2 separate regions of the Homo sapiens genome follow, and region 1 is linked to region 2. The links are contacts of gene promoters, found by promoter capture Hi-C in human tissues and cell types (Jung and others, 2019). All regions are on one chromosome and are shown on one strand. The core of a region is centred on a gene start or on the middle of the fragment in contact, and the rest is flanking DNA. Distances in the headings are between cores, read along the strand shown.

Evidence for each region. Contacts are between HindIII fragments. The study calls those that stand out against the background at their distance.
Region 1: a contact is called between a fragment that was not itself captured here and the fragment with the promoter of EGR3 in region 2, in 1 of the 25 tissues and cell types used here (spleen).

Annotation. Positions count from the first base shown.
Region 1 is chr8:23,254,292-23,259,024 of GRCh38, reverse strand. CHMP7 (charged multivesicular body protein 7) reads right to left here. Exons shown (of 11, transcript NM_152272.5): 4 at 3,593-3,778; 5 at 2,432-2,565; 6 at 944-992; 7 at 576-695; 8 at 195-293. Among named protein-coding and RNA genes, the nearest start is that of CHMP7, 13 kb to the right of the region's middle. The HindIII fragment of the contact is 3,113 bases long and covers 645-3,757 here.
Region 2 is chr8:22,692,022-22,696,476 of GRCh38, reverse strand. EGR3 (early growth response 3) reads left to right here and starts at 2,997. Exons shown (of 2, transcript NM_004430.3): 1 at 2,997-3,686. The coding sequence starts at 3,533. It overlaps LOC105379321 (a long non-coding RNA gene), which reads right to left and starts at 1,620. Exons shown (of 3, transcript XR_001745832.2): 1 at 1,263-1,620; 2 at 945-1,033; 3 at 145-536. RefSeq lists silencers at 686-925, 1,706-1,925, 2,808-2,971, 2,916-3,035, 3,898-3,967 and 2 more and enhancers at 2,036-2,135, 2,176-2,285, 2,118-2,763. The HindIII fragment of the contact is 10,174 bases long and covers 1-4,455 here.

The DNA of each region.
Region 1 (4,733 bases), core at 952-3,451, 560 kb before region 2:
CTCTGAGCATCTCAGTCTTTGGTGGAAAATATCTAGGGTTACAAAGCAATCCTGCCCCAAGTGAGAATCAAGGAAAGCTTCCTCAAGTTCACAAGGTCACAAGTCAGGTTTCGTTAAAGAGGATGTGCAATGAAGTCAAATCTGTCCTCTGTCACCTCCTTCTCTGTGTGTCCCTCCCTGGCCCCTTTCTGTACCTCTTGGATCTGATCCACGAGGCTCTCTGCCTTCTCCACTGTGACATCCTTCATGGAGAGTTTGAGTGCTCCTACCCCAGCCTGGTAGGCGTTAAAAACCTAAAGACAAAGCAAAGCTATCAGTGCAAATGACAGACATTTGGCAAAATACATACAATATTGTTTCAACTCCAAAAGGCAGCTTTGGGGTGTTTTTTTTGGCACCCAAGCTCAATTTACCCTATACCCACCGAGGCCAAACCTCCTGACTGGAAAGGCAAAGGCAACCCCAGCCACATCCCGAAAGAACCCAGGGATCCTCCAAACAGCCAAGCCGAAGCTGCAAGTGACCAACACACACGGAGAGACCAGCCAAGTGCTGGAGTAGAGGGGAGTGACTACCATCTGATCTGTCTGGGAGGCATAGATCCGGTCCAGGATGCCTTGAACAGTGTCCAGCTTGGCATGCAAGGCCTCGATGCGCTTCTCTGTCCGTTGCTTGGCCTTGAGAGACCTCAGTGCCTGGAGGCATGGAGACTTAGGTCAGTGCTGAACTGGGCGAGCCAAAGGGCAAGAGGAAGACAGCCCTTCCCAGACGCTAAGGATGTCCCAGCTTTCTTCCCTCCCATCTGTAAAATAAGCTGTGGTGCCTGGGCCCCCTGCAGACTCTACCCCCCTCAAAACCCCAGCAAGCTGCTCTCTGAACTGCTGGGCATTGCTCCAGGCCTGCCTGGGGCACTGCTATGGGTCTGGAGGAGACAAGAACTCACCAGCTGCTTCTTTCCTGCTCGGCATGCCCGGCGGGCTTCTTCTTTACACCTGGAAACAAAGGGACAGATAAGATTACTGTGCCACAGGATGGGAGTGGCAGGGTCCCAAAGGGTCCCTGAGAGCAGCACTCAGTTAAGGTGGTTTTAAATCTGAAGACTAAACCCAATACCCAGTGGCAAGAAAACTGATGCTGACGGCAAAAACTCTTGTGGCAAGTCTGTTGACAGTCTGTTGTGGCAGGCTCAAGCAGGCTGACTAAGGATAAGCTTTTTCAACCCACAGGGACAGAACATGCAAACAGGGCACATTATACACATCTTCCTGTTTTGGGGAGACAGGGAAGGAACTGTTAACACCAACAATGACCTCGGACATATCCTCTGCCTCCCAACAAGGCTAGACTTTCCCACCTGGAAGACAGACTTCAATGTCTGTGTTCTCCTGCCAGAGGGTGTGTCTTTATTAGGGATTCCTTGTACAGTCATTCAGGGGGAAGGGCAGGGGAAGAGCCCCTCAGAAAGACCTCTGCAAAGGCAGGGACCTGTCTTGTCCACGGCTGTATCCCCAGTCCCTAAGACAATGCCTGGCTCAATAAATATTAGTTGAATGGACACTGGCAAGGAAGAGCATAAACATAACATTCACAGTCATGGTCTGTGGGGGAAGCATTAAGACTCACGTTTTCAGCTGGGCACAGTGGCTCACCCCAGTAATCCCAGCACTTTGGGAGGCTGAGGTGGGGGTCTTGTTTGCGCCGAGGAGTGTGAGACCAGCCTGGGCAACATGGTGAGACCCCATCTCAACAAAAAATTAAAAATTAGCCAGGCATGGTGGTGCACACTTGTGGTCCCAGCTACTCAGGAGGCTAAGGCGGGAAGATTGCTTGAGCTCAGGAGTTAGACTGCAGTGAGCTAAGATCATGTCACTGCTCTCCAGCCTAGGGGACAGTGCAAGACCCTGTCTCAATTGAGGAAAAAAAAAAAAAAAAAGGCCGGGCACGGTGGCTCACGCCTGTAATCCCAGCACTTTGGGAGGCAGAGGCGGGCGGATCACGAGGTCAGGAGATTCAGACCATCCTGGCTAACACAGTGAAACCCCATCTCTACTAGAAATATAAAAAATTCGCCAGGCGTGGTGGCGGGTGGCTGTAGTACCAGCTACTCGGGAGGCTGGCGCAGGAAAATGGCGTGAACCCAGGAGGCGGAGCTTGCAGTGAGCCGAGATCGCACCACTGCACTCCAGCCCGGGTGACAGAGCGAGACTCCGTCTCAAAAAAAAAAAAAAAAAAAAAGAGGCCTCATTTTTTTTTCTCTTTTGTGATATTCTGTGCTTTCCATGATTTCTGCATTGAGCAGTGAGTACTTTTGTAATTAGCTAAAAAAAAAAAAAACCCACCTATTTTTTAAAAGCCCACATATACTAACATTTTGCTGGCTCTGGGGGCCAGCAACAGTGGGGAGGAGGCTCAGTTCAGGGTTAAAAGTTACCTCTCTGCTTCCTGGGATAAGGACTCCACTTTGCGTGAGAGAAGCTGTTCACTCTGCATCAGCTGGTACACCCCAACATCTACGTCATTGACTGGAGAGACCTTGGCACGTGGCCCTCGGGCAAACTTCACAATCTGAGGGACAGGGAGAAATTACTACTGCTGCTACCACAAAGGCTGAGAAATTCCCAACCAGGAGCGCTGGTGGTGGGCATGTGAGAACAGCAGGCCCCCCTTATCCATGGGGGATATGTTCCAGTGAATGGAATCCCCTGTGGAGGTCTGAACCCTCAGAGAATACTGAACCCTATACATATAGCTATGTAAACATTTTTCCTTCTTCACAATTTTTCCTATAGAAGATTCATTCTTACTGTAGATCCTAGCAAACTCAGCAAATGATATTTGGTCTTCCTTATTTGGTCCAGAACTTTTACCTTTTCACTTAAAGGAAGCACTTGACCGCTTCTCTTTGGTAAATCTGGACTGCCAGCACCACTGCTCTTGTGCTTTGGGGCCATTATTAAGTATAATAGGCCAGGCACGGTGGTTTACACCTGTAATCCTAGCACTTTGGGAGGCCGAGGCAGGCAGATCACTTGAGGTCAGGAGTTCAAGACAGCCTGGCTAACTGGTGAAACCCCTTCTCTACTAAAAATACAAAAATTAGCCAGGGGCCGTGGCGCATGCCTGTAATTCCAGCTACTTGGGAGGCTGAGGCAGAAGAATCGCTTGAACCCGGGAGGCGGAGGCTGCAGTGAGCTCAGATTGCGCCATTGCTGGGCGACAGAGCAAGACTCCATCTCAAAAAAAAAAAAAAAAAGTACAATAAGGGTGGCTTGAACACAACCACTGCAATGCTGTGACAGTCAATCTGATCACTGAGACGACTCCTAAGTGACTCAGGCGGGGAGATGCTGGACAAAGCAGGGATGCGCATACAGGCGGGATACTACGAGGTCCCATCACACTACTCAGAACAGTGCACAACTGAAATCTATGGAACTGTTAATGTTTGGAATTTTCCACTTATTATTTTTGGACCGTGGTTGACGGCAGGTTACTGAAACTCTGGAAACCAAAATCTGAGATAAGGGCTCACTACTCTATGTACTTAATCAATCACTGCTGAGTCAGTGAATGAACAGATGAGCCTCCATACCTTCTCCCCGTTCTGCTCGAGGACTGTGACCCTCTTCTCCTTCTGCAGCTGCAGCAACACCAAGTAGAAGGTCCTCTCATCTGGGCAGGAGTTAGCACAGAGGGTGCTGAGCTCTGACAGGGCCACCACGGGGTGGGAGGAGAGGGGCGAGTTCTGATACAGACGATACACCTCCTCAGCCTTTTCCTGTGGGAAAGGCAACATTGGCTGACAGGCCCTGGCCACTGCCATGGGATGCAGGGACCCTGACCCTGAGTTTCAAAACCATGATCACACAAGGCAAGCACCCGGGAATCCCAACCCCATCCTCCCCAAAGTAGCGGCTTTTCAAAAAGGAGGAAGGATCTGTGTTTTTAAGCCTTGGAGGAAAGTTTGGTGACTCCACATGAAATGAGGCACATGAGATGCTGGGAGCCAGCTCTGCGCTGCACGCCCATCGGGGATTTTACACTCCTGCCTCTCACTGGCCTGTGGTTTCCCAAGGGAAGACTGAGGAGGTGAGGTGAGGTAGAACAGCTGTGAACGAGAGCTGAGGCCTGATTTCCAGCCTAGCCTGGGTGACCTTGGGCCAGTCACAGCCTCACTAGTCCTCAGTATCACTCTCTGAAGAGGGTGGATGAAATGACATCTAATTCCCTTCCAATTGTAGTCTCTCCATTTTCCTGCCAATTGGCTATACTGCAAACACAAACATTATTGACTCTGTAAAAAGCCTTAAGGGAAAAGGGCCAGGCGTGGCAGCTCATGCCTGTAATCCCAGCACTCTGGGAGGCTGATCACCTGAGGTCAGGATCACCTGAGGTCAGGAGTTCGAGACCAGCCTGGCCAACATGGCAAAACCCTGTCTTTACTAAAAATACAAAAAAAAAAAATAGCTGGATGTGATGGCGGGCACCTGTAATCCCAGCTACTTGGGAGGTTGAGGCAGGAGAATCACTTGAACCTGGGAGGCGGAGGTTGCAGTGAGCCGAGATCGCGCCACTGCACTCCAGCCTGGGCGACAAGAGCAAAACTCTGTCTCAAACAGAACAAAACAAAACAAAAAACAAAGAAAAGTACATAATAAACAGATGGGATAAGATTAGTGACAAGAGTAAGAAATATAAGTTCCAAGAAATAATGTCACCATTTCGCTCATACA
Region 2 (4,455 bases), core at 1,748-4,247:
AACAATTGCAGTTTATCGGGTGCTTGCTTAAGGGACTGGCAAGTACTCTATGAGGATTATCTAATTTAATTATTCCTAAGGGGTAGATACTATTATCCCAATTTACAGACAAGGAAACTGAGGCTAAGAAAAAAAAAACAGACGTTTGCCCAAGGTCACAGTGAAGCTTTAATGAAGACTTTAATTGAATTGAAGGCTCCCGTTTTATGCAAAGAACTAGTAGAAAGGAGAGGGAAGGAATCGTGTCCCCAGACTCCTATCCAATCTTGCTGACGGGTAAGCAAGCCCTGGTGCAGGTCAGCAAACCTTGCCCCATGCTCTTCTACTTGGAAGCAACAAGTCCAGCGTGCCGAAAAGTGTTGGGAGAGAGGCCGTCTCCTCCAGTTGGGAGTGGCTGCACTCCACAGCCTCTGGGGCCCTGGAAGCTTAAGGATCCCAAATGCTTCCACTGCCTCTGCCTTTCCCAACTCAGGCCCCAGTCGAACAGGATAAGGGCTTCTAGCTCCTCACTCTGCAGCCCCTCCTGGGGAGAGATCCTGACAGGTGGAAAGTGGGTGCATCACGGTGGGGTCCTCCGGAGTTGAGCTGGGCGGCCCGGAGGCCTCTCACTTCCTTCCCACCACCCCCGCAGGCTGAGCTCTGCCTCGCGCGGGGAGACATGGGCACTGCAGCCTTCGGGCCTGCAGCTCGCCCAGGACCGCGGACCCCACAGCGTCTCCCGGCCCCAGGCAGGAACCCGTGGAGACCCTCCGCAGCCTCCGGGTGCACGCGCAGCAGGAAGCACTCTGGAGGGGCCAGGTCTGGGACTGGCGCGCCCGAAGCTCGCTGGTTGCCGCCCCTCCCTGGCCCTCCCTGCTGCCGGGCTCTACGGCCAGAGGCCAGAGCCGCTGGCTAATTTTTCAGGCCCCCACCCCCACCCCCACCGCCTCCCTGGGTGACGCTACAGCCTGTGCGGTTCCTTTAAAGGCTGCGGGTTCCGTTCTTCTTTCCTTTTCCACTGGATGCCAAAATATGCAAATCTTGGGACCGGAATCTGCAGCCAAATCGAGAAGGAGAAGGGGCGCGGCCGGCGCGTCACCGGATCCGCTCCTTGTATGGCTCTTCCCGGCTTGGCCCGCCGCCCTGCGACCCTCCCCGCAGCCGCCCGGGCCCCTCCCGCACCTAGCCCGGCTCACACCGCCGCCCACGCCCCCCGACCGGCCGCGCGCCCCCCCTAAGGGAGGGAGCCGGGGGCGGGAGGCGCAGCCTGCCCTGATTCTGACCGGAGCGCGGGACCGCTGCAGCGCTCTCCCTCCCTGAGCCGCGCTGGCGGAGGACAGCCCGGGGGGCGCTGTGGCTCCCTAGTATAGGAGTGGGGAGCCTGGCGGGAGAGGCGGCGGGGGTGGAGAGAGGGGGCTCGCGGGAGGCGGGAATCCCTCCTTTCCTAAGAACTGGAGAAGATGGGGGGAGGCCGGGCCCTCCGGTCCCCAGCCCTCCACTGAGTGGAGGGGAGGGGAGGGGAGCGAGGTTGTCATCCACCTCCACCACAACGTGCAGCTCGGGAGTTCCTCCCACACGTCCCCGGCCCGCGTGGCCCTCCCACGGCGTGAGGCCCGGGGATCCTCTCTTCTTCCTTGTCAACACTCCCACTCCCCCCGAGAAATGCACGTTCCCCCAACCCCGACTCCCCAGGAGGGGACGAGGGATTCACCGCGCCCACGCGGCCACCGAGGAGGGAATCCTCCCCCGCCAAGCCGATGTGATTTGGGGTCGCACCCCCATGCTCCCGCCCTCTCCTCCCCCTCGCCCGCGGGCCGGCTGCGCGCGCCTCGGGAGCAGGCCCCAGGGAGCACAGCAGCCGCCCCCGGGATCTGCTGCCGCTCCGGGAGGTGAAAGCGCTCCGGGTCGGCACACAGGCCGCCCTTGACTGCGGAGCGCCGGCAGGCAGCAATGGGGACAGCCCTGTGGAAGGCGAGGGGGAGGGCAGAGACTAGGGGAGGCCCCCAGTGGCTCAGAGACTGTGGGTTCGGCGTCCTCCTTCTGGAACTCTGGCGGGCCCTTCGCAGGCAGCAGTAGACAGCGACTGCGCCCGGGCCTGCTGGGCCCTCCTGCCATCCTGTGGCCACAGAGGCTGCTTGGAACCGTTAGGGAATTTACTGGGGATTCAGTGCACGTGTTTATCTATCCCTTCAACTTCATTCTTTCCTCTTCACCACGAAAACCGCACATCCTCGACCCCATATGGATGGGGCTCTTGTCTTTGGCGCAACTGCTGGGGTGCTCCGAATCTCCTCGCCACTGCGCTCAGCCTAGAGTCAGCGCCGGGTCAGGGGCCCAGGGAGGGGCAGGGGCGGCGAATCAGAGTGAAGTTGGCACAAAAGTTCTTGGGATATTGGACCAAGGAATTCTGACAAGTTGAAACACCCCCCCAACCCTGCGCGCACCCCTCCTTCCCCCCACAAAGGGAAGCACTCCCTTTCTCTTAATCTCGGATAGGATCCCGAACGCTGGAGCCGCTGAGGTAGCAGGGGCGCAACGCACGCCTTCCGGGTTCCCCAGCAGTTCCCGGGCTGCAAAGGGATTTCGCCAGATGTTTTCAACTCTCTTTCTAACTGCTGGGGTGTTGGAGACCACTTGCAAACAACCCCACCCCACCGCCCACCTCTCCCCAATGCGCTCTCCTAACGCAAACCTCAAATAAACACACACAATGAGTTACTGGTGTTTCGACTCCACGCTACGCGCTTTGCGCTTTGCATGCAGCTGTATCCTTCTTTCCTCTCTCTTCTCGCATTCTTCTTGTTTCTTCTCCCCTTCTCTTTTTTTCAAGAGCCGCGAGCGGTGCGGGCGCCGCACGTTGGCTGCGGCCCGCTTCCTGCTTTCTAATGTTCCATTGTGAGGAGCTTCCATTGTGACGTCGCGCCCCTTCGGCTGGGCTTTGTCTGTCCATATATGGGCAGCTACGTCACGGAGCTTTCCCGGGGCTCAGATAAATAGGCTGGTGGAGTTCCCTGGCTGGGAGCTTTTGGGCAGCAGTGAGCTTGCTAGGAAGCGGCGGGGCTGGTGGTGGTGGTAGCAGCGGCGGCAGCGGCGGCAGAGGCGGCGGCGGCGGCGGCGGCGGCGGCGGCGGTGGCGGTGGCGGTGGCGGTGGCAGATCGGGGGGCGGGGGGGCGGCGGGCGCGTGTCTGTTTGTGAGATCAATACTGAGGCCGCGTCCGACCCCCTTGAGCCGAGATCCCCCCCCAGCCCAGCCCCCACCCCACCCCCCGCACACGCCCCACCCCCCCCACGACCCAGCCTCATACCGCACCAGCTGAGGCACCCAAGAGGATTACCCCCTGGGGCCCTCTCCCGCCCCCCAAAAAAGAGAAGATCCCCTCTCCTGGCCCATCCCTTCCCTTCTTCCCTCCCCCCTCCCCCCGAACTTTCCCTCTCGCATGCTTTTCCCCTGCACCACGGATCGCCTCTCGGATGCCGCTTGCCTGGAAGCTGCGTTAGGAGCGAGCGGCGGCGGTGGCGGCGGTGGCGGCGGCGGCGGCAGCTCGGGAGTGCTATGACCGGCAAACTCGCCGAGAAGCTGCCGGTGACCATGAGCAGTTTGCTAAACCAACTGCCTGACAATCTGTACCCCGAGGAGATCCCCAGCGCGCTCAACCTCTTCTCCGGCAGCAGCGACTCGGTAGTCCATTACAATCAGATGGCTACAGGTAAGGGCGGCGGGGAGGCGGCGAGGCAGCGAGGAAGGAAGGGGAGAGGAAGAGGAGGAGGGGACGACCTGGTGATGGATGGATGGATGGATGGATGGATGGATGGATGGATGGGTGGATGGGTGGATAGATAAATGGATGGAGAGATGGGGGCGCGCTGGGAATTTTGCGGGGGGCGAGTTGCTTTTCCCACCCACTCCTCCCGCCCTCCTCGATCGAGAAGGCTAGGTTGGCGACGCCACGGTAGAGGCTTCGGTTCTCCCGGGTGGGGGCAGCCGCCGACCGGAGGGAGGTAGGTGCGAGCGGCTCTGGGGTTCTCCCTCACCACGCAGGGGGCCCGATCGCCGGGCTACGCGCAAGGCGTGGTGCTGTCGCCCTCTTCCCGGGAGGAGCCCGGCGTCTTTTTCACCCGCGCTCTCCCCCCTTACTCCCTCAGCCTCCCACCCGGGATGGAGCCATGTGCGGCGTGGAGTCCCCGCGGTGGGAGAGGTACTGCGACGCTGCCTTTCCGGGGCGTTCAGCAAAGCCGTGGGGGTGTGGGGACGGCGGGGAGAAGGAGGGGGTTCACCCGCGGGGCGAGGGCCTGCCACGGGGAACGATCCCGGGGCCGGGGAGCTGGGGAAGGGCGGCCTCTCCCGCCATGGAGACACCGGCCGGTTTTCCGCCGCTCTCCACCCTCCCTAGCTGGGGCTAGGATTTTCCCCTCCAGCAAGAGCCTAAAGCTCCTTCATGCCCGAGGAGGCTGGGGCCGGGGTAGGTGAAGGGAGAG